Regions from separate parts of the Homo sapiens genome. Here all the other regions are linked to region 4. The links are contacts of gene promoters, found by promoter capture Hi-C in blood cells and fetal thymus (Javierre and others, 2016). All regions are on one chromosome and are shown on one strand. The core of a region is centred on a gene start or on the middle of the fragment in contact, and the rest is flanking DNA. Distances in the headings are between cores, read along the strand shown.

What was found. Contacts are between HindIII fragments. The CHiCAGO score rates a contact against its expected background, and 5 or more counts as called.
Region 1: the fragment with the promoter of PSMA3 here is called in contact with the fragment with the promoter of KTN1-AS1 in region 4 in 1 of 17 cell types (total B cells); the score reaches 5.6 in total B cells.
Region 2: a fragment that was not itself captured here is called in contact with the fragment with the promoter of KTN1-AS1 in region 4 in 1 of 17 cell types (naive B cells); the score reaches 5.9 in naive B cells.
Region 3: a contact is called between the fragment with the promoter of ARID4A here and the fragment with the promoter of KTN1-AS1 in region 4, in 3 of 17 cell types (fetal thymus, non-activated CD4 T cells and total CD8 T cells). The highest score is 9.7, in fetal thymus.

The regions. Positions count from the first base shown.
Region 1 is chr14:58,241,791-58,246,466 of GRCh38, reverse strand. It overlaps PSMA3 (proteasome 20S subunit alpha 3), which reads right to left and starts at 1,624. Exons shown (of 11, transcript NM_002788.4): 1 at 1,526-1,624. The coding sequence starts at 1,546. RefSeq lists enhancers at 1,151-1,600, 715-1,612, 1,781-1,980, 2,021-2,070. The HindIII fragment of the contact is 17,362 bases long and covers 1,326-4,676 here.
Region 2 is chr14:58,200,603-58,205,733 of GRCh38, reverse strand. It overlaps ACTR10 (actin related protein 10), which reads right to left. Exons shown (of 13, transcript NM_018477.3): 2 at 2,807-2,879. Among named protein-coding and RNA genes, the nearest start is that of ACTR10, 3.0 kb to the right of the region's middle. The HindIII fragment of the contact is 1,894 bases long and covers 1,784-3,677 here.
Region 3 is chr14:58,297,025-58,302,026 of GRCh38, reverse strand. ARID4A (AT-rich interaction domain 4A) reads right to left here and starts at 3,472. Exons shown (of 24, transcript NM_002892.4): 1 at 3,327-3,472; 2 at 2,167-2,229; 3 at 337-447. The coding sequence starts at 2,172. It overlaps PSMA3-AS1 (PSMA3 antisense RNA 1), which reads left to right and starts at 3,890. Exons shown (of 4, transcript NR_029435.1): 1 at 3,890-4,072. RefSeq lists a silencer at 2,383-2,902 and enhancers at 3,533-3,622, 3,733-3,782, 3,803-4,222, 3,519-4,242. The HindIII fragment of the contact is 5,118 bases long and covers 3,237-5,002 here.
Region 4 is chr14:55,578,423-55,583,277 of GRCh38, reverse strand. It overlaps KTN1-AS1 (KTN1 antisense RNA 1), which reads left to right and starts at 3,186. Exons shown (of 3, transcript NR_027123.1): 1 at 3,186-3,342; 2 at 4,541-4,672. KTN1 (kinectin 1) reads right to left here and starts at 3,071. Exons shown (of 44, transcript NM_001079521.2): 1 at 2,924-3,071. RefSeq lists silencers at 1,753-2,047, 2,227-2,866, 2,927-3,186 and enhancers at 3,627-3,716, 3,727-3,846. The HindIII fragment of the contact is 5,026 bases long and covers 1-4,855 here.

The DNA.
Region 1 (4,676 bases), core at 375-2,874, 2.7 Mb before region 4:
AGATCGTGCCACTGCACTCCAGCCTGGCAACAGAGCAAGACTCCGTCTCAAACAAAATAAAAATAAAAAAATAAACTTGCTAAAGCGTTGGTTCTGGGAGTAAAGTAAAAAAAGGAATTAAAGATGAATAACAGATTTTTTCATATGACCATTCACTGAGCTGAAGACTGTAGTAGATGCAAAATGGCAAGGTGAGGAGAAAACCCAGAGCTCTACTTTCACATGCAGTACGAAATGACTATTAAACGATCAAGTGAACAGACATGTCAAGCAGACAAACAAATATTCGTATCTGGAGTTCTTGGGAGAAATGAAGACAGAAGAAAAGCCTTCAGCAGTGGTACTTTCTGAGTCTGTTTCCTGATCTGTTAAACCCAGATCATTAACCCTACCATTGTTACTAAAATATCCCACATGGTTACATTATCAAGTATTCTTTAAAAGGTTTGTAGAATGAAATACTATTAATTCAAGGTAATATTAATATAATTGCAAAGTCAGTTTGCTACAAGATTTAATATTGAGCATTTACTTATCCAAGAAAAGTATGGCAGAACTTTAGCATTCATAACTGAATGGATTAAACCATTCCAGACATAAGTTGCCTATTATCAAATTTAGAACACCGGTACTTGAACTTAAGGCTGAGCATGAGAATCTTGTTAAGAAGTAGAAATTGAGGAACTGAGAAACTCATTATTCAATAACTCTAGTGCAAATAACCAATAAATCTTTTAGAAACTGTATTTTCTATATAGAGAAGTACATAAAAGGAGTAAACTGACTGCACATATGCAATACGTTTAACAAAGGAAAGCCAAACAAGTTAACAAGTCCCACTGCAAAATCCTCAACAGTCTATGAAAAGTCTGAAGCTGTTAAGTTCCTAAGTAACCATTTAAACGTTTACGGAATAAATGCCTACAAGCGCTGTTAGGTAATTTGTATAGGAAAAACGAGAAAGGAAAAACTGAAGGATTCATCAGATTGTTTTTCAGACCATTTTTATTAGTTCTGTTCCGACAGGATTTCCAGTGACTCTTAAACTGAGCGGTCAATGATCTGCACACTTAAAGACAGAGAAGGCCTGTGAATCAGCAGCACCCTAGGAACTGCAAACGCAGTCCACAAAAAGCACGATCTCCAGACCCCGGAATCCCAAATCTCACTGCCTCGGTGGTTCTCAAGAGAACACACTATTTCAAGCCCCACGAGTTTCCACTTTCGGTTTCCCTAAGTGGCTGAAGAAAGTGACTCAGCAATCCAAAGCGGCTCCAAACCTCACTGCGGCGACGCCAAGCCGGCTACACCTGCGCTGAAAAGCTTCAGGAGTCACGGTCACCTGAGACGCAGGCCTAGCATATAGGGGATAAAGACGACCGGTCTCCAAACAGCTGCAAATGGCCCACCCAGCCGAAGGCGGTCTCAGAGCACCCCGGGTCCGCGAACCCCATGTGGTCTGTCCGAGTTCCCTTCAACCCCAATCCTTAGGTTAAACTATTACACCGACAGACAGCGAACTCACCCCAGTGCCGATTGAGCTCATCGTGCTAAACCCAAAGGGACGCGTAGGGATTCCAGGCCCGGAGCGCTTCCCCTATACCACAGGATGCCGCAAACTAGTAACAGGCCCGCTCATTGGCTGAACTGCCAACCAATAACCTTTTTCTCTGTGGCTCGTTCCGCGGCTCCGGCCCCCAGGACGAGGAGTATTGTGGGAAAAAAGCGGGCCGCGAGAGGCTGGCGGCGCGCATGTGCAGAAGCAATGGAGGCGGGGTTGGGGAAAGCAAAGGCTCCTCCTTCGGTTCGCGTACTTTGAGCCGCTTGGCGTCGTGGTATCTGAGAAGCTGCTCTATTCCTTTCCTTGGAATTATTATTTATCTTTTATATTATTATTCTCTCCTCACTTTATTCTTTCTTTAAGCCAAAGGGAGAGATGCTGGTATACTCTCACAAAAAGTAGAAAAAGCAGTAGGCGCGAAGTAACCTGTCTTCCTCCGCGTCCCGACCCTGACCCAGAATCTTGATGGCATCCACTTCACCTCCTTGTGCTCAGGCTCTCGTGAAGTTTCACTTAAAGGGTATCGTCTTTGAATTCAGCTTAGAATTTTACGGAAGTATTAGTGCTCTTTCTATGAGTATAACGCTTTTTGGTAAGAGTTAAAGATAAGTCTGATTAAAGATATTTTTTGAGCGCTAGTATATTCCACGTGTTCAAGAAAAAGCCGTGAACAGAGCATACCCCCATTTCTAATGTAATTTCCATTCAGTGGGAATAAATAGGTAACAATAAATAAGCAAAATAGTAAGAAGAAAGAGTGCTTTAATAGACAATGGAGGTACTAACTTTAGGCAGTGTGCTCAGGGAATGACTTTCTGAGTGAGTGATATTTAAACTAAAATAGGGTAACAAAAGACAGTGGTTTAGGGAACAGTAAAAAACTTGGCTTGCGCTGGGAACTGTCACGTCAGAGTGACCTCTCATAATGATTAAGTGGGGAAGAATGACAGGAAGAGAACAAGTGCACAGGAGACCAAATCTTGAAGTGGTTTGAATTTTAATCCGATTGTAAATAGGGCATCAGCATTTTTTTTACTCCTAAATATTAATACGTCAGTGTGTATTTTCCCCCAACACAGGAACATTATTTCACAGAGACACAGTATTATTGTGAAAATCAGAAAATTACCAATACTATGATCTATCAACTTTATGCATTTTTTTTTTTTTTTTGGTAAATGGCCCAATAATGTCCTTCATAGCAAAAGAAAATCCAAGATCACACCTTGCATTCAGTTGTCATGTTTCCAATCTGCTTTAGTCTGGAAAATAGTTGCTTAGTATTTCTTCAGTTTTCATGGCATGAACACTTTTGAAGAATACAAACCATTTATTTTGTAGAATATTCCTTAATTTAGGTTTGATTTTTTTGTTATTTGATTCAAGTGATGCATTTATGGCAGGAATACTACAGAAATGACCTTGTATTCATTCATGTCAGAGCATTACATTAGAAGGGACATGATGTTAGTTGTTTTATTGCTGGTAATGTTAACTTTGATCACTTGCTGAAGATTTATCCCTGATAATGTTTCATTTTTCCCTTTGTAATTAGTATCTTGTGAGGAAATACTTTGAGAATATGTACACATCCTGTTTACGCCTCAACATTTCACTCATTAATTCTAATATCTGATGATTCTTATTTGAATTGATTATTACAATGGTTGCCAAATGGTGATTTTCTAATTCCATCATTCTTTTCACATTTATTATTGGTTTTCTACTGTGAGGTTATCAGGAGTTTTTAAAGCAAGAGAATTATATGATTTGATTTAAATCATTAAATGACCTCTTGTTTCTGTGTGAAGAATGATAGCTAAGGGAAAGAAGAGAGGCAGGGATACTAGTTGGAAAGTTATTGCACTTTTGTGAGCTAGCAGTAATGGAGAGTGATTTGGACTAAAGTGGTGGCAGTGGAGGTGGAAATATGTAGATGGATTTCAGATGTGTAGGGAGCTATGGTTTGAATGTCCCCTTCAAAACACGTGTTGAAATTTAATTGCCAATGTAATGGTATTGCGATGTGGGGCCTTTAAGAGGTGATTAGGTCATGAGGGCACTATGGATGAATGACATTTTCAGAATGGGTTAGTTATCTTGGAAGTGGGTTCCTAATAAAGGGGTGAGTTTCACTGGATTTCAGCTTTCTCTGTCTCACATATTCGCTTGCTCTTCTGATCCTCTGTCATGGGATAACACAGCACAATGCCCTTGCCAGATGTCAGTGCCATGCTCTTGGACTTCTAAAACCATGAGCCAAATAAACTTTTCTTGTTTATGAATTACCTAGTCTGTGGTATTCTGTTATAGCAGCAGAATATGGGCTAAGACATAGGGCTTGCAGAATTGGGTATAGAAAGTAAGGGGGAAAAAGGAATTTCAGTTACTTTTGCTTTTTCCTGCTAATGAAGCATTACAATTGATGTTTTTATTCTTGAACAAACCGATAGATAAAAGGACTTGAATGACTTGGAAGACTAGCCACTTAATTTACCTAACCCTCGTTAAAACATTCTAGTTGTAAGTGGTTTTTTTTTTTTTTTTTTGAGACTGAATCTTGCTCTGTCACCCAGGCTGGAGTGCAGTGGCATGATCTCTGCTCACTGCAACCTCTGACCCCCGGGGTTCAAGCGATTCTTCTGCCTCAACTGCCCGCGTAGCTGGGATTACAGGTGTGCACCACCATGCCAGGCTAGTTTTTGTATTTTTAGTAGAGACCGAGTTTCACCATGTTGGCCAGGCTGATCTCACACTCCTGACCTCAGGTGATTCACCCTCCTTGGCCTTCCAAAGTGCTGGGATTACAGGCGTGAGCCACTGCACCTGGCCTCTAGTTGCAGTTCTTTCCTGGGGAGTTCGGATTTAGACCAAGATAGTCCAAGAAAGTGTTGAAGAAAGCTAAAGGTTAATAGTTGCAGAAGGTTTGGCCTTGGAGGTAAACCGTAAGTACTCAAAACTTGTTTAGGTATCAGTTAATCTTTTAATTAACATCATTACTTGTGTGTGATAAACACTATTTGAGTGCCTAGTGCACTCAATATTTATTAATAATTAAGAATTTGGGGGTTCTTTCGGCCGGGCGCGGTGGCTCACGCCTATAATCCCAGCACTT
Region 2 (5,131 bases), core at 1,481-3,980, 2.6 Mb before region 4:
ACATTTTTGAACATCAAACCACCAATATCTACCATATTTCTGGCTTGTCCAAGGATTTGCAGAAAAATTTAAAATCAATGAAATGATTCCTTAATCAAGTGTAATTAAAAAGATTTCTGGGCCGAGCGCAGTGGCTCACACCTGTAACCCCAGCACTTTGGGAAGCCAAGGCGGGCGGATCACGAGGTCAGGAGATACAGACCATTCTGGCTAACACGGTGAAACCCCGTCTCTACTAAAAAATACAAAAAATTAGCTGGGCGTGGCGGCGGGCAACTGTAGTCCCAGCTACTCGGGAGGCTGAGGCAGGAGAATGGCATGAACCCGGGAGGTGGGGCTTGTAGTGAGCCCAGATCATGCTACTGCACTCCAGCCTGGGCGACAGAGCAAGACTCCGCCTCAAAAAAAAAAAAAAAAAAGATTTCTGATGTATGTAAATGCCAAATATAAACTGCTGGTCTCGTCTATTCTGCTATAACATGTTTTTTTTTGTTTTTGTTTTTGTTTTTTTTGAGATGGAGTTTCGCTCTTGTTGCCCAGACTGGAGTGCAATGGCACAATCTCAGCTCACCACAACCTCCACCTCCCGGGTTCAAGTGATTCTCCTGCCTCAGCCTCCTGAGTAGCTGGGATTAACAGGCATGTGCCACCATGCCCGGCTAATTTTGTATATTTAGTAGAGATAGGGTTTCTCCTTGTTGGTTAGGCTGGTCTGGAACTCCTGACCTCAGGTGATCCACCTGCCTCAGCCTCCCAAAGTGCTGGGAGTGAGCCACCGCATCTGGCCAACATGTGTTTTTATAAAACCAAATATGCTTATATGCGATTGCTAAAAAAGGAAATAATGTCAGAAAAATGTTATAGTTGTATTAGTTAATATTAGGCAAGACAAGCTATAATTATAATGGAAGTATAACTTTCATCAAGAAAAAGAAAGTCATCAACTCAGTTATCACACAGGTAGATATGCTTTCAGATCTATTCATAAGAAAAGTGTAAATAACTCCCTACACCAGCAATTCGTGCCTCAGAGTGGATCCATGACTCTGTTGGGTTGCATTTCCTCCTAGTTGCTACTTAATAACAGTCCCACTGGCTCAGAGCTTGCTACCATCTGCACTGACTCAGAACCCACTGGCTAACATTTTCAATCCATGACTTTTATTTTTATTTGTTTATTTTTGAGACAGGGTCTCACTCTGTCGCCCATGGTGGAATGCAGTGGTGCAATCTTGGCTCACTGCAGCCTCAACCTCCTGGGCTCAAGTGATCCTCCCACTTCGGCCTCCCAAGTAGCTGGGGACTACAGGTGCGCACCACCTCCACGATTTTATTTTATTTTATTTTTTTGAGATGGAGTCTCGCTCTGTCGCCCAGGCTGGAGTGCAGTGGCGCAATCTCGGCTCACTGCAAGCTTCGCCTCCCGAGTTCACGCCATTCTCCTGCCTCAGCCTCCCAAGTAGCTGGGAATACCAGTGCCTGCCACCATGCCTGGCTAATTTTTTTTTTTTTTTTTAGTAGAGATGGGTTTTCACTGTGTTAGCCAGGATGGTCTCGATCTCCTGACCTCGTGATCTGCCCGCCTCGGCCTCCCAAAGTGCTGCGATTACAGGCGTGTAATCTGCCCAGCCCACAATTTTATTTTTAATATTCCCTAAGACAGCCTCCAGCCACACTCAGCTGCCTGCCAATCCTATTTAAATTTTGTGGAGGCATCAATTATTGTTTTTGCTAGTCCTCTGATTACAAAGTTACACAGGTTTTATATGGACTACCTCAAGCTTATTTTTCCCATAAGCCTGTTTTGTTTTGTTTTTTAAAAATGTACCATTTTGCAGAACAAAGGTATTTTCTGGAATGCATATATAATGTTACTGTGGTAACAGCTACATCTCATTTTTTAACAAGTGAATTTTATAACATGCAAAATCATTCTTTCTACTGGTTGTAATTTCTAATCTGCCAAATTAGCTGTGGCAAGAAACTTTTTGAAAGTTTGTTTTCAAAATTCTCTGGGTTTTGAAACTGTAAATAAGGGAATAAATATCTGATATATTATAAATAATAAAATAATTCAGTGGTTATAAGACTTATAAAAGTATTTTACTGAAGTTAAAATTTTTCTCTTGATATATGATTCCATTTACATAAAATGTACAGAAAAGACAAATCTATAGAAACAGAAGGTACACCCTAATGGGCTGAGGATAGGAATGAGGATTAATTGTAAACGGGTATTAGGGATTTTACTGGGGTGATGAAAACATTCTAAAACTGGATTGTGGTGGTACTTGTACAACATGATATACTTATGGTGTGCAAAATTAGACCTTGATAAAGTTGATTTAAAAAGAAAAACTTTTCCTTGGAAATATAGCCACAAAGTATATATTTAGTACTGTTTCTTGTTTCTTTTTTTTTTTTTTTTTTTGAGACGAAGTCTTGCTCTTGCCCCCCAGGCTGGAGTGCGATGGCTTGATTTTGGCTCACTGCAACCTCCGCCTCCCGGGTTCAAGCAATTCTCCTGCCTCGGCCCCCTGAGGAGCTGGGATTAGAGGTGCCTGCCACCACTCCCGGCTAATTTTTGTATTTTTAGTTGAGACAGGGTTTCACCATGTTGTCCAGGCTGGTCTCAAACTCCTGATCTCAGGTGATCCACCCGCCTCAGCCACCCAAAGTGTTGGGATTACAGGCGTGAGCCACCACGGCTGGCCTTTAGTACTGTTTTAATCAATCTTACTTGAAGTCATATTTTAAAACATTTTATAGTATGGCATTTATTTTGCTAATATTTTTTTTTAAATACCTTAGGCATCCCAGCTCTTTTTATCACACTAGGAATTATACATCTTGGACCAGTTTCTCCAGCAAATCCACACCTGCAAATAAATGGAAAATTGAAACAACTTATAGTATTCTTTTAAATATTTGTCACAGAAACTAATTTTCTCTGTATTTGTTTCAAAACAATGGCCACAATAACATTTGAAAATACCTGATGTATTTTAAGGGATCAAAAAAAATCACTCCACAAAACTAATAATACTATTTATTAATGCTTGTGTATTAACAGAAAAAAATTCTATGAAATTCGTGATGCTGAAAAAAACAAATGTATTATTTTAGGGCAGCATTTACTTTTTTTTTTTTGAGATGGAGTCTGGCTCTGTCACCCAGGCTGGAGTGCAGTGGCGCGATCTCGGCTCACTGCAAGCTCCGCCTCCCGGGTTCACGCCATTCTCCTGCCTCAGGCTCCTGAGTAGCTGGGACTACAGGTGCCGGCCACCACGCAGGGCTAATTTTTTTTTTTTTTTTTAGTAGAGACGAGGTTTCACCGTGTTAGCCAGGATAGTCTCGATCTCCTGACCTCGTGACCCGCCCGCGTCGGCCTCCCAAAGTGCTGGTATTACAGGCGTGGGCCACCGCGCCTGGCCAACTTTTTTCCTAGTTGTTAATTTTAGCAGAATTTAGGCAAGACATATCTACAACTCTGAATCTGTACTACATTATGTGACTTCATTCATATAATTCATCTGTATCACTCATAATTCCATCATTCTAATATTGTTAGCTTCCATATTGGTGTATTCACTTTCAGTCTACTTCTTATGATTATGCATATATATTTGACATAGTTTTAATCACACTTCATACATAATTAACTCATACAGTAAGCTTCTGCCCATATTAACATAATCTTCATTGCTATCACTTTTTTTTTTTTTTTTTTTGAGGCAGGGTCTCGCTCTGTCGCCCAGGCTGGAGTGCAGTGGCACAAACTCAGATCACTGCAGCCTCCGCTTCCCAGGCTCAAGCGATCCTCCCCCCTTGGCCTCCCAAAGTGCTAGGATTTCGGGCACGACACTACCGCCGGCTAAATTTTGTATTTTGTGTAGAGCTGGGTTTCCCCATGTTGCCCAGGCTGGTCTTGAACTACTGGGCTCAAGTGGTCAGCCCGCCTCAGCTTTCCAAACTGCTGGAATTACAGTATTATTTTTAAAACCACATATTTCATTATTTTAAAAACGATGCTCTTTTCTTGAGTATTTAGGTATTTCCATTTTTGTTTCATGTTAGTAAAACAAAAATTTGCTAAAAACGTTGCTAAAAATGATCATCATACTAGTTTAGTCTTAACATCCTGTCTTCTTGTCCTGTCTAGTTTTTGATACTGCTCTCCTCGTATTCCCAAATAATTCTCTCCATCTCCTCCTATTCCCGTCTCCATGTTTACTTGCATCAGTGCTCCTCAAACATCTCAGAATGCAAGCCATTAGACTTCAATTCCTTTTTTTTACTTCATACATTTATCTTATCATCCTCCTGCTGTCTTTTTCAAATATAGCTTTTTGCTTATTTCTTCCAAGTACAGCCAAAATAATTATCTTTGACTAGAAGCCTCGAACTGTTTATTACGCTTTCAAAATAATTTTAATAAGAAAATATAAATAAGGAAGGGCCTCGCATAGAACAATAAGAGAATGTCATTAACCAAGGACTATGTTTAATCCAATTCTGGAGTTCCTGGGGTCCAATTTTTAAATAGGCTCTTTTAACCACTTAGTCAATAAATAGTTATTAAATACCTACTACACGTCAGGAAGTGCCTAGAGATATAAAAAGATTTTTCAAATGTTTCATTTTCATAAATACATATATGATGTAATTGCCTGTTACTTCCCTCTCTGTTGAGCCCATCACAAGGACTCTTAATCTAGGGTCCCAGGACCACATTGATTGTCTGCCAATTCCCTGAAACTGTGTATAAGTACCTTAAGATTTGTGCATTTGTGGTTTTCATCCAGCCATTAAAGAGATCTATGCCATCCGAAAGGTTGAGAACCTCCTCTCTATTGTTTACAAGTTGGTTTGTTTAAAACATGTCAAATCTAACCTTCGAGTTTAGGGGAGCCAACAAAGGATTTCCAGAATCTTATCTATAGGGTTTCACCTCTTAATGTGCCCAGTCTCCCTAATTCTTGAGCAGCGATAGCCCTGTCTTAAACATCTTTCCATTTTCAGCACCAAAATAAACTCCGTTCAATATTTTATGATGAAATTCGTCATCGAGCATTTACATTCGGTTGGCTGCCTTCCTCAACTGAGGAGCCCAGGGTAAGCGGGGTCTAGG
Region 3 (5,002 bases), core at 2,223-4,722, 2.7 Mb before region 4:
TCCTGTTGTATTTGTATTGTCCTAAACACTAAAATTGTCTCTACCTGAACATTAAATGAGGGGAGAAAATAGATTACAGTCCAAGTATGCTACCACAAATAGTTAAGAGCCAAATGACAGGAAATATCATGAGCATGGTATTTTGATGGTAGCATTTTGGAATAATTTCTCCTTTTGAGTTTTTTATTTCTTTATTTTTGATGTGCTTTTCCTTTAAGTTTGGTATATAAAGGGTTTTCATATAATGACTCAATAAAATGCTGATTTGCAGTCTCTCTCTCCCCAAATTTCTTCAATCTAGAGTTAATAAAACTATTGCATAAAAACAAATATTACCTTAACTTTCACCAGCCTTTTCACAGTCTTAATCTTTGCCTCACAGAAGGCACCTCGGTACTTGGCACTGACATCGGTTCCCACTGTCAGGTAGGCAGGCTCATCTGCCGCCTGGTGAAAGGAACATAAAACTGTGAATGTCATTACTATGCCTCCCTACTCCAACCTCAAGTCTCATTAAAAGGTTGTGTTTGAAGCATTAAGAATATTAAAATGACTTGCTTATTAATATCATTGAAAATTTGAAAAATACCCTAAATACTTGATTAGCAACCTTTCATTTTATAGACTGATGTCCTGATATGATAAAATGTTTTAAAGTTGTAATTCAAAATTATCAGTGATTAATAATGTTTTGTCTCGATACAAAATTTTTCAAAAATTCTACTATTATATAAGCAGAAAGATAAGAAAAAAACAGAAAAAATATTTCATATTACACATATCATAAAACTAAGTTATTCATTTATAGCTTCCTGAAATTTTTCAAATTAAAAGAAATATTGCTACTAATATTAACACTAACAATACATAATTGTTTATTGACATAGCCACATAAAGGTAACATCTTTTCATAAGGAAAGTATCATTTGGAAAATTCATTTGCTAAAAGCTGCACTTGAAAGGTTTTAAGTCTGAATTCAGCCGATGAATGCAGATATGAACTGATGGCTCCAGACTTGTAGGTATACCTAGTTTACCACACTAATCTTCTTAGTATAAAAAAATAAGCGTTACTAAGAAACATCTACTTTCAGCAAATGGACACGACCAGAATGATACATAGAAAGATGTAAGAAATGTCACTCTACCACTCATTTTAATTTTTACAGTAACAGGATGATTGCTATCTCAATCTGTCATTTTACCTTTTTTTTTTTTTTCCGGAAGTTAAAGTGTATCCATACAAGTTCAACTTAACATTGTTAAGTGCAAAGTTAACAGTGTACACTTTGGAGATACGTTTTGAAGTAGAAAATGATTTTTTGTTTTCTAATAAGTTTTCCCAAGTAATATTAAAGAAGGTTAAATATGTCATTTACTTCGAGAAAATAGAAAACCACGAGAAAGTTTGGGAAAATGCTATATTTCAGAGCTTAATATGCTGAAACAGTAAATAAGACAGGAATTGGGTACCTTTTAAAGTAAGTGCATTTACAAAAAATACAAATTGAATAGGAATGCTTTTGGCAAACAAAAATCTGACCTGAAACATTCAATGGCCACAGCATTCAAGAACGCTATATGAGATCCTTTCCCTTTAACCATCCACATACTGATATTTGCAGTCATCCTCAGTAGAATATGTATCTTTTTAGTATATGTTTTAAAATACTTATTGGAAAGATTTAACTAAAACTATTATTATACTTCAACTTCAAATATTTTAGCCACATAAGTTCATTTTACACACAGAAGAAATGATACCTTCATTACTTAATCCACGTATTCTTTCTTTTAGAAAATCGCATTGGCACACGGGAAGAAAAAAAATTTACAAAAAATCCCCCAAAGAACCAAAGCAGGACAAAAGCTTTACTTCTGCAAAGGTTGCTGCCAACACAGGAAGTGTTTAAAAATACTATCCGAATGGACAACAATTGAAAGGCTGCACCAGCCTTTCCAAAGTACTGCTACAGAGAGGGCCTAAACTCCGCATTTAGACACACAGATCATTTTTCACCCATTCAACACATCCTCCTATGCCGAAACTGCTGATCAGTAGGAACATCAATTTTGAGTAGCAAAACAAATGACATTCCACGGCACTAGCCTTAGGATTGGCAGTGTTCAGGGCGCGAGGATCGGGGCAGAGTTGACTCCACTTACCTTCATTTTTGTTGGTGATCTGTGGGGTTCCAGCTCAGCGAGCTATCTTCGCAGTCGCTAGAACTATGGGGAGGGGGAAAGACAGGCACAGACATAATCAGTCAACTGCGGGGAGCGACCAAGGGAAAGAAAGTAAACAAACGCCAGCGGGGAGGGGCAGAATCCTCACCAGCCAAGGGACAAGACCCCTTACGAGGGCAGCCAGGACGCAGGAGCTGAGGGGGCAGCGAGAACCCCACGAGCGCCAAAGGGCAGCCCGTTCCGCCCCGGAGCTCGCCAGCGGCCCACCGCGCCCCCGCCTCGCTGGCCACTTTGACCCGGAATGCTCAACTCGGAGCTCCAGGACAGATAGCTCCGGAAAAGGCCAGAGCTCCCTTCGGGCTTCCCCAGGTCCCCCGCGGAGACGACCGCCGAGCCTCCGCTCCGCGGTCCCCCGGATACCCCGACTTCGGCCCGCGCCCCGCCTCCGCCGCTCGGCCCCCTCGGCCCGCCCCGGGCCCGCGGTGGCGGCAGCGGAGTGTCACGGCGCCATTGCTCTCCTTCCTTCGCTCTGCACCATGTCAGAAAGGAGAAGCGCTCCTTCACCCAAAGGGGCAGGGGCCGCGGCCTTCAGCCGGGAGCCGCCAGAGCCCCGGGGGACCCGCGTGGGGGAGGGGGCGGGGGGCGGAGGGGAGGAGGAGGGGAGGTGGCCCGGACAGGGTGTGGGAGGGGAGGGGAGCCGCACCGCAGCAGCCGCTGCCTCCTCCCAGCGCCCGCCTCAACTTTTTGTACAGCCCAGAGAGGTATCAGCTCGTAGCCCCTCGAGTCCTGCCACGGACTCCGCAGAGGTGGACGCGCCGCGGAGTTGGGGGACGGCTCCCCCAAGCAGCCCGCTCTTCACCGCGCGGAAGCAAACTTAGCGGCGCGGCCAGCCCCACAGCCATTTTCCCGGGAACCCGAGGAAGCGGACGAGGAGGCGGCTGCAACTGCGGCGGCGGTTCCTGCAGTTGCTGCCGCTGGTCAATGGCTGGCCCCTTCCCTTGCGCTCGCCGTGCCACTTGCCTAGCATCCCTCTCCCCACCTCCAAAGCTTCCAACTGCACCGGGACCTCGGGCAGCAGCAGCTGCTGCTACTGCCACTTCGTCCATTCAGTATCCCCGGATTCCCCTCTCCCCACCTACCAACTGCGGGTGAAGTGCGCGCTGTCAGCTCCAGAGTCCTCCTCCCCTCTGACCTCCGTGGGCCCCCGTCCGGGCAGCACCACTCCCAGCCGCGGCTGCAGTTCCTGCGCCGGGTTCCCCACTCGCCCCGATTTACTGCCACAATCCACCAAATAACAAGCTGTTGAGCAGACTCGCTTCTACACGAACTCCTATTGGCTGCTCATGACGCCGAAGAGCTTCGGATAGGACCTCGCTACCTGCCGTCCTCATTGGATGTAGCTGTGAAACTTCATGGATTGGTGAGAAAAACAGCAGGTAGGACATCTTCCACTTATGATTGGCTTTTTCCGAAAACCAACTTTATTGGAGAGTTGGTTATTGAGTAAGCAAGTCCTGAGAAATGATTGGTAGAGACGACTCCGGATGTGCTTGACTGGGCACTGATTGGTGAATTGAGGGGTCAGGAAGAGCAGTTCGACACGAGGATTGGCGGCGGAGTGTCCCATGGAAACGGAACCCAGAATTGCAGCCAGGGGCTTGCACGGGGGCGGGGCAGGGTCTGTCCAAGGCGCTTGCGCTAAACCAGCTTGTCGGCGCCATTTTGTCTCGGCAGCGGTGGCCGTAGCTCCATCGCATTTTATGTTTCTGGCGAGAAGGGAACGGAGTTTTCATCAGGTAGATTGGTTTTTGTGCGGCCGTCCTCCACCGTTTCCTCCAGGACAGCACCTAGTCGTGGCCGGAGGAGTCTCAGAGCTGTCAGAAAGGTCAGTTGGAGGCTATGGTTGTCCGATTGACTGGGGGGATGGCGCAGCCCTAGCGGCACCGGCACCGGAAGTGAAGGGGCCGCAGGCAGCCATGGTAAACTTCTCCCTGCGGCGGGGTGGGGAGAAGGGGCGGGATGAATGGGGGCGAGGCTTCCTCTCCCGCCGAGATAAAGAGGTGGAGGAGAGGCAAACGTCTTTCTTGGAGGTTCTCTTTCGGGTTTTCGAGAATGTGAGAGATTTTCTGGGTTCTGTCCCACTGCAATCTTTCCTGTCTTTGGAAGTGCATTTCGGGGACTTGCCATGTTCTCCACCTGATTGGCACCAGCTGTGGGAGCCTTCTTAGTTAAGACAGGGAAGAAGTGGTTCTTAGAAACATCCTGCATGGGTAGAGGTTTCCGCGTGCTCCTCACGGGATAAAGCTATGAGGAAACTGGAGAAAGCGCTGGCTTTCTGGATGCTGAGGAATTTACTTGCCAGCGCAGACGCTTCTTCTGTGACCTTAGACAAGGGTCTGTCACTCTGCACGAGGCTTATGCTACTTTTTGAAAGCAAACAGTGGTTTTGCAGGGACTGAAAACATCTTAGACAAAAGGACGTCCCCGATAAGATAGACGTTGATCTTTTTCTGTTAACATCTTATATTCTGTTAAACGAAACACACATTTTTAAATAGCGGAATTGGAGTATAAAATTGACTAGTTTTATAGAATGGAGTAATTTTTAAAATGTGACATATCGTCAGTAATCCACGTGGACTAAATTTTCTCAGTAAGAAAACAGCCGAGCAGAATCAGTTTTTTATTCGTAACAGTAATTTTGCTCAAAAGTATTCATAAAAACGTGAAATGCATGTTGGCATTTCTAGTGAGTGACCTAGTCACACTGGATAGATCCTAATAGTTACCCTCAATACCTCTGTTTTAAACCCTA
Region 4 (4,855 bases), core at 1,937-4,436:
AAAAATAGCCTAGTTTTCACTGCCACCTCTGTCAAAAACACATTTAAGCACAACAGCTCGGCACACAGTTGTAAACTGTCATTATTTCTCTTTCTCTAGACCTCAGATACAGAAGGTTAAATTAAACCCCTTAGTTCACAGCACATAAGGTTCTTCCCCTTAATGTTTAATTTTCTATTTATAGAGGAGGGAAAAAGGCTTATATTCTCATCTAGACCAATATTTTCCCAGTGATTTGAAAATAAATTACATTTTTTGATTGGGACAAAGTCATGTTCACAGGAACTGAAAGAGGAAGCAATGAAATGCAATTCTCTTTGAGCATGAGTGATCACCAATGTCACTTCTAGAGAAATAGTTACTTGCTTGTATCCTCTAAGTATACTCTGGATTTACCTTCAAAGTCACTAAAAACAGTACAGAGAACAAGCAGGTCATAAGGTGTATTCTCAAATATATGAACGATCTTGCAAAGCACGATTTTTCTCATTTCCTTATTACATATTAGGTCAGATTCCCAAGAGAACCAAAACCTTCCTAGAACCACTTAAGTTCATTAACAATTTAATATTTTAACAAAGTATTGGAGATCTTTCAGGTTAAAACTTCATTTGCTATAAAAATTATAGGCATACAATTAAAAACACATGTTCCATTCAAGTTAAGAAATTAACTTACACATAGGAAATGTATAAGACACATTCAACTTTTAAAAAAACAATTATGATTCAGTATTCTACGTGTCATCTTAACCATGACAGGCTGATTAAGAACTTTTAACCATAACTTAACATTCAAGTTAAGAACTTAAGAACAGTGACAATCTTAATATGGGTTCTTTAGAAGTCTCAAAAAGGTTTTCACGTCTTAGGCTCTTTTAAAAAGCCATATTGACTGATATTAAAAATATAATTATTAAAACGATCTCCCTACCAAAAGCAGATTAAAGCCTATAAACTAGAAGGGAGACTGAAGTGAGGCATTTTTAGGGACAAACACAACATCAAACAGAAGAGACTACTGGTATTAAAAGAATACAGAAAGATCTAAATTGGAAACAAAATCGTAAATGTCTCTTCATAATGCTGACGCTGAATCATTAAGAGTTAAATACTTGATATTCTTTATAATTTTCAAGTATTAAGAAAATTTTTCAATAGATCTTGTTATATTTTCAAATTCATTATCAGCCTCAAGTAAATCAAGTAGAACACCTTATTCTCTAAGCTCACTTGATAAGGTATTGTTATGTCTGATGAAGGCTACAAAATTAGAAGAGACATTTGAAACTCAATGTTGGGGTGGGAGGGAAACTCATGAACAGACCCAGCTATTTCAGGTTAGATCCTTAAACTAAAAAAAAAGGAAAAAGGAAAAAAAAAAAGAGCCTTTTTTATCAGGCAGCACATCAAATATGAAAGTCTACTGCAAGGCATGTCTACCCAAAATACTCAAGAGTAATTTAGTGTTATTCTTGGGATCATTATCCCAAGTCTCACCAGCTTGGGATCATTATCCCAAGTCTCACCAGCAATTGCTTCGGACCAAACTGGAGACACTGTTGCCATTAGCCTGCTAGGTAAGCTAAGGAAAACAAATGCAACCTAATTTAGCAAAAATTCTAACTTTAAGTCAACTCCTATACAATTCAGAACCTTTAGTTCACCGAAGATGCTTATCTTTAGCTGGGCTGGCCATGAGTGTCTACATTTCTCAAGGCTTTCCACAAAGTCATCACACACACACACACCTTAACAGTTAACTTCAACCGTAGCTCTTTACTCAAGGCTTTCCACAAAGTCATCACACACACACACTCACACACACACACACACCTTAACAGTTAACTTCAACCGTAGCTCTTTAAGCACTACTAACTTAAATAGCGGCTAAGGAATCCGTTTGCCAACACAGTTCTGAATTTAGATTCCTCCTTCCTCCCACAGGAAAGAAGGGCCAACACTGAACAGCTTACTTTCAACCTAACCTAGTCAAGGTGCAACTGGGGCCGGCTGGGACGCCGCTGCCCGCGTCCGGGGCTGCCCACATCTAGTGCACCCAGCGCCTTCACCGCCAGCATGCGGGGCTGCACATCCCACACCAGACGTATGGCTGAGAGCCAGACGACTTCTCTAGACTTCCCGCGTAGTTTTCCGGCGAGGTCCCCAAGGCCAAAAATCTCACTTTTGGAAACTGAAGGGGTCAGGCCGAATCGCTAGGACACACCCCTCGGGGACAGGAAGGGATAACTTCGCCGGTGTCGAGAGTGGTCCATGGATTTTTCCAAAGTCCCCCCTCATGCTGCTTTCCGTGCCCAACCGCCTCCCGCCCTGACCTGGGGACTCGCAAAGGGCAGCGGGAGGGGCGCCGGGGAAGGGGGCGAGCGCCCAGACCGCCGGAGGCAGCGGCGAGGACTGGAACTCCAGCATGGCGTAAGTGTGGCCCAGCTCCGGCCCGGGGACGCCGCCGGAGACGCGCTGCCTCCGTCCACCGGCCGAGGAGGCGGTAATCCGCCTTCCCTCCCGGGGGCCCTCAGGCTTGGCTAAAAATAGGTGCCTCGGTCACCCCAGGGCCCGCTCGGGTCGACCTCGCCTTCGGGAGAGTCGTCCTTGGGGAGGGTGGGGGGTGTCCCTCGGCCGCGCCCCGGGTGCCGCGACAGAGCCGGGGTCGGGCCCAGAGCGGCCCCGCGAGGCCGAGGAGGTCCCTCCGAGCCCGCCCCCTGCGGCGTCCCGGCCCCAACAAGAGCCCCGCGGCGGCAACCGGATGCCCGAGGCCTACCCAGCGGGCGGCGTCCGGGCCCCGCGGCCGCGCCCCCCCGCCCGGCGCGGCCCTCCCGCCTGCCCCAGGACCCCGCGGCCGGCGCCGCCTCCCCCCGCGCTCCCCGCCGCCGGCGCCCGTCCCGGTGCGGCCTGCTCTCCCTCACCCTGTGCGGCCGGGAAAGGAGACCGGGAAGACGCGGCGGCGCCGGCACTACAGCCCGGGCCGCCCGCTCCGAGGCGCCGCCGCCGCCGCCGCCGCCGCCGCAGTCGCTCAGGTGCCGTCGCGCCGCTCGGCAGGAAACGGGCGGCTTCGGGGCGGGGCGGGGCGGACCCGGCACGTCCTGGCGTCTGGGCCGGCGGCGCCGGGAGACCGGCCCCTTAAAGGGACAGCCGCCGGCCCGCCTCTGCCTCCGCGCGCCTGCCCACGCGCTCCGGTACTCGCTGCTCGCGGCTGGCCGGCTCGGGATTCCGGGCTTTCTTCCCGAGACCGCGTCCCCCAGCTGGGCCGAAGGTGGACGCTCAGGGGCTGGAGGCTCAGCGGAATCCCCTGCGTTCAGTAGCCCCGCTCTCCCCTGTCCCGAAGGTTGGTCTCGTCTCGCGCGGCCCTCCCTCCAGGGCACCACCTGGCTCCCCACGCCTTTTAACTTCAGCAAACGGCACTAGATTTACCCCCTGACTATCCCAGATTTCCCCCAGAAATTACTGGAAAACGACATCCCCCGTCCCTTTCTCCAGGGGATCTCTCTGAAATCTCCTTCGGGCAACGCTAGCTACAAACGGAGAAAGAAATTAGAAAGCGACCCAAATAATGGTCGGGCGCGGTGGTTCACGCCTGTAACCCCAGTACTTTGGGAGGCCAAGGCAGGCGGATCACCTGAGGTCAGGAGTTCGAGACCAGCCTGGCCAACATATAGTAAAACCCGTCTCTGCCAAAAAAAGTACAAAAAATTAGCTGGGCATAGTGGCGCACGCCTGTAGCCCCAGCTACTTGGGAAGCTGAGACAGGAGAATCGCAGGAATCTAGGAGGCGGAGGTTGCAGTGAGCCGAGATCTCGCCACTGCACTCCAGCCTGGGCGAGAGAGTAAGACTCTCCGTTTCTCTCAAAAAAAAAAAAAAAAAAAGGAAAGAAAAGAAAGCGACCCAAATGAGTTGTGTGCAAACATTATGAAAGTGTTGTGACTGCCAGCTGGTAGCCATTTATGAAGCCGGGGTAAAAATCTAGAAACTGCTGCGCGAGGAGGGATGGGCCCGGATCTCTCCTTATTCGTTTGCTCTTTGCTGAAAGGATGGCAGCGATCCTCCCCGTCCACTGGCAAGTGAGTTTCGTGTGGATTGTTTACCGATGATCAATCTCTCACAGGAGGCCAGGCACTGCCCCACTACATGTACAAAACACTCCAAGCTGTCCGCAAATGTTATGAAGGCTTAAAATAATCCTAACGATTCCAGACTGTGGATAGAGATAGAAAAAATTAGGACTCACCACCACCACCTCGCCCTACATCTGACAAAGTGGGAACAGAAGCAGTTAAGGAATGAACAGCAGAACCGTTTCTACACCAACAGAATTTCCTGTACATGGGCTGGTTAAAAGTATCCATACTTTTTATTCTAATCATTTCTAAGTTTTCTAGAGCACCTCCAAAATACAAATGAAAACTGCGCAGTGTATAGTGGCCTGAGATATTGAGAATTCTGCCAGTCTTCAGTCACCGTGTTCTCCACAGATGCATTGTCTTATTTTAACTCCAGAGGCGTCCTCTTTTTTCTTTCTCATTAGGATTACTCTGCCCCTCAGCGGTTCCAGTGCCCTCAAAGCAATCTGTCTCTGAAGTACTGGCTATCTTCTGAGCGTGTGCCAGAAGATCCAGCTTTGTTGAAAAGCGAAGCCGTTAGTCCCTTAATACAAAGGGTAAGTGTATCATTTATGTAATGGAGTTTAAGGGCTCTTGATTAGCTTACAAACAACCATGTTATTTCCTCAGGTTAGTACTAACGCAGGTTTTAGGTTAGAATTAAAAATTTATATCATTCATTTTCCTGACCAGTAAAACCGCAATGTCATTTACAGGCAATAATATTTCGGTGCACTTGT